Regions from separate parts of the Homo sapiens genome. Here region 1 is linked to region 2. Evidence: promoter capture Hi-C in human tissues and cell types (Jung and others, 2019). All regions are on one chromosome and are shown on one strand. Each heading gives the region's core, a stretch centred on a gene start or on the middle of the fragment in contact. The rest is flanking DNA. Distances are from core to core; before and after follow the strand shown.

Region 1 (3,919 bases), core at 769-3,268, 910 kb after region 2:
TTAAGCTTGATGGTGAAAGGATCTGTTCAAATTAGCATGCCTTCCTTCAGAGGTGTCCAGGACACTTTGTGTCTATGTCAACCAGTGGCATCTCTTACACATCATTAGCTTGGTCAATCCCTGTAGAGAAACTGAGGGATCTCAGTACAAAGAACAAGAACTGGATATATTAACTCCTTATTTTGTGTTACCATGTGGTAGCCTTTCCTAATACGTACTCCCCATCACTTTCAGCCATTCCCAGTGCTGATGGAATAAATGTTTTTGAAGAGTAGAATCAGTTTTATGGAGTGCATGTTTTAATGAATACAGTAATGTGTTTACCTCCCAATTTATCTTCTACATTTTGGCCATAAAATTTAACTGTATCTGAAGGATAATTTAATAGTTCTGTAAAGAAAGGCAGCTTATAGCATGAAAAGCTTATAGCTTTTCCAAGTAAGAGGAAAAATTTAAGCTGGAGGTGGTTTTAAAAATCTTTCTAATATCCCTTACAAGAAATACCATCCTATCCATGCCCAGGGTCTTTGAGATTTGTAGATGGGAAATACTCCTAGTATTGGATGATTCCATTTCCACAAGGACTGGAACGTGTCAGAAGCACAATGAATGCCCTTTTTTTTTCTTAACTTTCTTTCCAACTTTATCATTATCATTGTCATCACTGTTAGGTTACGCACTGGTTTTGCCTAAAGCAACAAACCATCAAAAATTCACAGCCTTCAAGGCCGTCCCTAAGTTATCGGCACACATAGAATAAATCTTATATTAACATTATTGCATATTTCTATCAGACTATGACTATCCAGTGATCTGACCAACTCCCTCCACCTTTGTAAGCAGAAAAGCTCCATCGATTTCCCCCAGACAAATGGAAATATTACTTGGAGAATTTCAACCCCAGTGTTGCTTCTGCCTGAACTAACAAGAAGATTTCATCCTACATTGCATTCAGTCTTGCCTCCAGCTGTGAGAAATTCTGCCACGCTGGAATACGGACTTAGATGTGATACACAGTGGGCCATGAGTGATGTGCACCAGCCAGCAGAGGGACATTTTTCTAGGCAATGCTGTGGACTCCTAGAAGTAGGAACTGAGGCATACTTGGCTCTCTGTCCCCTAGCACATAACAGAAGATCCATGAATGCTTATTGAATTTCAACTAGCTCAGCTGAAGAGGCTGGTTCCAGCAAAGACAACTGGATGGCTCAAGACACAAAGTCTGACAGGTACAGTTTGTTCTGCACTGATTTAGGCAAGGCAAGGCTACTGGTAGGGTGCAGTGGGTGGGAGACAGAAGACAGGTGATGATGGAGTACTGAAAAGGGAAGAGCTCAGGTATTTGGAGAGATGTATATACATACAGGCAGGTGATGCCAATTCAAGTGATGCATTCATTCTTAGCAGGACCTCAACCAGTAACTTGAGAGGACTGAGTTCAGGTAGTAGATTTCAGCACTTCCCCACCACCATCCCAGCATGGAAGAAAGAAACTGACCTGAGTGTAAGTCCCAACCACAGAGATAGAGTTCAAGTTAGAACCCATTCATAGAGAGAGAAAGTATAATGCAAGACATAATCAGCAGGCCACCACAGGGCAGAGATGGTAGCAAATGCCCAGTTTGGCAAAGTCTCATCCTGAGTCAGGAAGTCCCAGGACTGTGGGGCACTCAAATAGTCAGAGTTCATTCTTGTCATTAGAACATCAAGTCTGGGAGTGTGACTTCACTCCAGGCTGTCCAGGTTATGGGCACCAGGCTGCTGTTGTAAGCTATGTCCTGATCAGGAATGGCTGGAGGCTTTATGAGGTCCCAAATCTGCAGATAAGAGGAGCTGAGTGAGGCCAAAACAGGTAGCAAAGAGCCTACAGATTTTGCCCAGCCTGTTTCTACAGAAGGTTCAGAAACACAGTCGTTCAGGCTCCAATTGAACCAAGACAGTGTAGTCTGACAGAATAATTATTTAAAGATGATCTTAGCCTAAATTCGTTTCTTTGGTATGATTTGAAGGAAAGTAGCAGGTTATACAGTGTCTTTTTCTAGGCAGCAAATCCAAGTTCTTGGCTCCATAACTGTCTGGCAGAAGGTTTGGGAAGGTTGGTGAGTAAGCTAGATGTGTCTTGTTTTGGAGAATTTTGCCCAGTGTCAGCTCTACTCCCTTGATGTAACCAGGCAACTGGGTGATTTTATCAAGAATGAAAAAGCAGGAAAGGTGCCCAAGTTCCATAAATCAGTGCTCTGGGAAAAGGTACACTGGGGGCTTCTGGAAGATGGTGAAGACAAAATAAAGGAAAGAAACCACTCACAATGACCATGGCACAGGGAGTAAGAGAAAGAGATGACAGAAGTCTGATGGGAATAGGAAAAGAGTCTCATTTCCTCAAGATCCATGGTGTCCAGAGATTAAGAATGTTCCTCCTAAGGCCAACTGAAGCCTAGAAAAGGACACAAAGAAGCTCTTCCCTTCCTTCTCCTCACCATCATTCAACCCTGAGTTCTTAAAAATTATACTCTATACCCATTGAATTAGTTAGAGTTTAATCAGAAAAAGAGACCAGACCCCCTCCAGGTTTTCCAAACAGGAAAGATTTTAATATAAGGAATTACACACTTATACAACCATAACCATTGGAAAGACTTGGGTAGCAAAGATTAGGGCCAGAGGTGCTGCAAACTTCAGATATTGCAGGAAAGCTACAATCTCAGCTACCTGTAGCATTGAAGCAGATGATTCATAGGAACTAACCCGACAGCTCTGCAAGCCTCTCCTTTCTCCCGCTTCCCATCTGCCCACAATTGCTGTCAGAGAATAATGGCTTCTGCTTCAACTTTCACAAGAGTTTACAGAATCTAACAGGGAACCATCCAGTAAAGGAATTCTGGGTAATGTAATTGCAGATTTCTCTATAATGATGATGTAATGATGAAGATGATGTAGAAGGAGGTAGAGAAAATGCTGAGTCAACAGCAAACAATCTGGCACCCATTGAGAATGGAGGGTTCGTGATTTCTTTTATCCTTAATGTGTGATTTTTAGATTTGAAGTTTGTTATTGATTCTGTATTGAGTATGTCTCTTTTCACAGGCTTATCCTGAGTGTTTACAAAATGGCAAGAGATTGCTAGCTTATTTATTCATGCATTCTCTGAATACTTGCTGAGCTCTTTTTATGTGCCAGGTGCTGTTCTAGGTGCTGGGGACATATTGGTGAATAAAACAGACAAGATCCCTGCCATCATAGGCTTACATTCTAACCAGAATGTAAGACAGTAATAAAGAGGAAAATGAACAGGGTAATTTCTTTTTTTAACAGCTTTAGTAAGGTAAGTTTCACATATCATAAAATTCACTCATTTTCAGTGTACAATTCAATGACTTCTAGTAAATTTACTGAGTGGTACAACAATCACTATAGATAAGTTTTAGAACATTTTCATCCCCCTGGTAAAATCCCTCAGGTCCATTTACAGTTAATCCCTGTTCCCACCCCCAAGCCCAGGCCACCACTAATCTACTTTCAGTCTCTATAAATTTGCCTTTTCTGGGCACTTCATAGAAATGGAGTCATTCCAGTAACTTCAATTTGAGATAAATATGATTCCAGTGAATCAGAGAGATGTGACAGAGCTACTGGAGCAGCAGAAGGACTCCTGCTTATTTGGGACAGTGGAAGAAAACTTTCCGAGAAAGACCAACATTTGAGCTGAGATACACCTTGTCAGATATATGAGACATATATTGTCAGGACCATGAGGTAGAGAATGGGTTGCTCCATATTAAATACACTAAAATACACCAATACACAATACAAATCGTGGCTTGGAGATGATGGGAGAGTTTCCTTCCTTCTCACCAGTCACTGTGTTATGGCAACAGTCATGCCCAAGGAAGGCAGTCTCGGGAGACCTGTGGGCACCTGG
Region 2 (3,930 bases), core at 863-3,362:
ATCAAAATTAAAAGGATAATGCAATCTAAGGATTGCTAAAGAATACTATTAACTCTATAAATCAAGGCATACAAATTATGTCTGTCCAAATATAGCTACTTTTGATTTAAACTTTATAACCTGGCTATAGAGTAAGTTTTGTATTCTCATGTTAGATCTTGAGTCAAAATGGTTCTCCTATTAAGGGGTAGAGGATAAGATACCTGAAATAAGGTGTTCTCCTTTCTGTAATCCCTCTCTCCACCTTGGCAGCTTGAAATGCACTCTTCAAAAGAATAAAATTAAGGGATGGGGTGGGAAGGGGAGTAACCAAAAGCCTAGAATGAGAAAAATTAAAATTAGATACAGTAACAAGCAGAACTAACTATAAACCCGTAAGATGGGTTTATTCTTTCTGGATCTAAGCAGTGAAAATGATTCTTTACTGCAATGCAGATCTTGGACTGAAAGAGAAGACGCCTAGCATAGTAAAAATTCTAACATTTTCATCCTGTTCAATATCTTGGCAATTTAGATGCTTTGAGATGTTCCCCCACCTACTGACTTCATAGAAACATGTTAAAACAACACCACCACCACACTTTCTAGAACTTGAAACTAAGCCTAATTTTTAAAAGTACAACCTCATCAATGTCTCTAAAACTAGGTCTTGAATCTAAAATGGAATTATACATAGAACTATTACATGAAGCAGTTCTTTCACTACAATCATTTTTAGCCCCCCAGTGACCAATCTCCTCAGGTAAACAATGTCTAATGACTGATGATTGTTTACTGTATGCCAATTACTGCTAAATCCCTCATATAGATTATCTCATCTATGAAGACACAAGGATTATTAATAACCCCACTTTAGAGATAAACAGACACAGGTTAACACATCTCGCTAACACCTCTTGTAAGTGAAAAACCAAGTTCAGAGCCCAAAAAGTTTGACTGCATAGCCCATGTGTCTAGCCATTACTTGGGTGTTCCTGAATACTTTTAATTCCCCAACTACTAAAAAATCTCGTTACTAGGAGTTGGGTTATGCAGCGAAACGGATGAACAATGGATTATAACTGCCAGAAAGTCGAGGGTCTCATACTAGCAACAGCATAAAGCCCTGCTTCTTATTGGGAGCAAAAAAGCAGATTCTCCTTCCACAGTCTCCTTTTGGATTTTGCAACGGAGAACTCTGTGGAGCTGCTGGTTCACGTAAAAGATCAGGATCCCTCTCGTTGCCAGAGGACACAGAAGAGTAGGAAGCTTTTGTTTTCAGAAAGAAGGTCCTCAACCCCACCTCTTCGAAGGTGTTTCCCCGAATTTCTCGAGGACAAAGAATCTGGACTCCTTTGAGAGTAAAGTTTCCTTTCCACTCCCTGAAGAGCGGGGAAAACTTCCGTCTTTAGTCTCCTTCCGGTTAAACTGACAAGTATCACAATCCTTTCTCCCCTATCTTCGGGCGGTTCCGGCTGGGAACAATACCCTCAGGGTCAGGAGGACAGGATCTGAGTGCAGGCCAGCCAAAAAGGTGGGAACAGATGCTCCTTCCAACACCTAAATGCTTTTTTAAACGGTCACCTGGATGTGCAGCCAGGGCCAACTATCCCTCAGCTCCTCCCTGTCACAGGTGCGCGCTGCCCACAGATTGCCACGACTGGGGGGCTCCCTACCAGTCGCAGCCCACCCTCGCCTCAGGTCTTCTCTCGCGTCCCCGGGCGGCCGCCTGCGCTAACGACCACATGAAAACGTCTCAGCACCCAACACCATCTCTCTATTTCATCTCCATCAGCGATGGAGAGAACGGATTTTGCCGCGGCTGGGCTGCACAGCAGCGCCGCGGTCCACAGCAGAGCCCGCGACCGCCATCTTAGGCAGTTCCAGGAAGCGGCCATTTCAGAGCGCACCGCTTAGCCGCGGCGGCGGCTCTGCTTCTCACCTTCACCGAGGCCTGAACAGGGTCAACAGCCAGTCGTCGTGGACTGGAGGGGGAGGGGAGAGAGGGAGGGGAATGAAAAACAAAACAGAGAGGAAAGAAGGATTCGGGGACAGGGTGATGCTCTCAGCTCAGGGATATCGCCTAGGCCATCTCCATAGAGATCCGATTCGCGGCTGGCGCGGTCGCCGGTCTGAAGATAAATTTAGCACTCTAGAGCACCCGAACCCTACAATCTTCACGAGCGACTCTGCCGCCGCCCAATCAGCGCCAGATTTGCGTCCCGCCACCAATCCGCGCTGAGCAGCGGGGCGGGACCAAAGGAAAGGACCAAGCTCGGTTGAGGCGCGGCCCAGCCGCAGCCGCAGTCACAGCCTCAGCCGCAGCGGCCGTGCTACCTAGGTGATAGCGGAGCGGCTGGGTAGGAAGCAATTGTTCTCAAACTTCACTAGCCCCGTCGGCGCGGACGCTTGTCGAGAATGCAGATTCCTGGGTACTGCCAGATACGGTTGGTGATCTTGTAGGGCTGGAGTGGAAGCCATGAATCTGCATTTTCATCATTTCTGGCCCTCTGCCCGGGCTGGGGTGATTCACGGGGATTCGTAGTGGCCCCAAAGGAGCACGCAGAACCTCGGCTGCTGTGCATTTATCACCTCTTTTGTTCCCGGAGGCCGCACCCCAGGTCCAGTTTACACAGCTGCCAACTCCTTTTCTTGGTTCCCACTGGAATCTAGGAAGAAAACTCGCCCTTTACTTCTCCGCCCCACACCCGACGACGGAGTGTCTAGAGGTCTGGTCGGCCTTGGCTGTGCGGAGGGCTAGGCCTGACGAGCGGGCGCTGATGCGGCGCAGACCCCGCCGGACCTCTTGGTCGGCCCGGGGTAGGCTGGGGAGCCGCGGGAACAGGACTGGATAGGGAAAGCGGCACCGCAGCGTCCACGGGCAAGCTGAAAGTCCGCTTGATGTCTTTGCATCACAGTGGCGCCCTCCCCGCAGGAACGCCCGGCCGCCTGCACCGAACGTTTGCCTGCAGGGAACGGCCAACCCGCCCTGAAATACTCTTTTTGTGGGCTGCAGCTTTCGGGTATTTTAAGCCATGGTTCTGTGCCCTTCCTTGTTTTCAAAAACACCACAGCCAAAGGCTGCGGGTTGTGTGCTTTCATTTTGTGTTAAGTTCTGTGGTGGAGACCTGGAGTCTGTTTTTCCAAATAGGCACCTTGAAATAGATACGCTTCTTAAGCGGGGAAAGTACGAGTAGGTCCTATTATTTGCAATGTTTTAGCCTTTCCAGACTCCGTACAAATGACTAAATGAAGATTGGATCGTATTTTCAGGCACTGCACCAATGATAGAAAATTCTCAACTTGGGGTCAAAAGCAAGGGCAGCTTTCGTTTTTCTTAAATATGCTTCTGATCAAATATCTAAAGTGTTGAAAGAAACCTAACCCTTAATAGCACAATTTACAGGAGTGCATAATTTCCTAGGACTGACATTTAGTTCCAAATGTTTTAAAGTCAATTACAACATCATCTCACCCTATAGTAAGCTGTCCATATATTCTCATTATTATTTTTAAATTATTTCTATTAAATCAGCTTCATTTGAACTTTAACCATAAATGCATAAATCGTTTTTGGGAAGGGGGTACAGTCGCGCTTGAAGAGCAAGGGATTTTGTCATTGCGGGAGTTGTCTGGCTTCAGAATAATATTGGAATAATATATTTTCGTGTTTCATATTTTAGAAAAACCTTTTACATATGTGCTCCCAAACCAATCTTTTTTTATTTTTTATTTTTTTTATTATTATACTTTAAGTTCTAGGGTGCACAACTTGCAGGTTTGTTACATATGTATACATGTGCCATGTTGGTGTGCTGCACTCGTTAACTCGTCATTTACATTAGGTATATCTCCTAGGGCTATCCCTCCCCCCTCCCCCCACCCCACGACAGGCCCTGGTGTGTGATGTTCCCCACCCTGTGTCCAGGTGTTCTCATTGTTCTATTCCCA

Evidence for each region. The method cuts DNA at HindIII sites, captures the fragments that hold promoters and counts their contacts. A contact is called where the count stands out against the background at its distance.
Region 1: a contact is called between a fragment that was not itself captured here and the fragment with the promoter of ZBED5 in region 2, in 2 of the 25 tissues and cell types used here (dorsolateral prefrontal cortex and mesenchymal stem cells).

Annotation. Positions count from the first base shown.
Region 1 is chr11:11,768,349-11,772,267 of GRCh38, forward strand. No RefSeq gene overlaps it. Among named protein-coding and RNA genes, the nearest start is that of MIR8070, 13 kb to the right of the region's middle. The HindIII fragment of the contact is 5,196 bases long and covers 1-3,919 here.
Region 2 is chr11:10,855,941-10,859,870 of GRCh38, forward strand. It overlaps ZBED5 (zinc finger BED-type containing 5), which reads right to left and starts at 2,113. Exons shown (of 3, transcript NM_001143667.2): 1 at 1,922-2,113; 2 at 204-317. It overlaps ZBED5-AS1 (ZBED5 antisense RNA 1), which reads left to right and starts at 2,277. Exons shown (of 3, transcript NR_034137.1): 1 at 2,277-2,426. RefSeq lists enhancers at 1,779-2,158, 2,312-2,949, 2,459-2,548, 2,950-3,585. The HindIII fragment of the contact is 25,171 bases long and covers 1-3,930 here.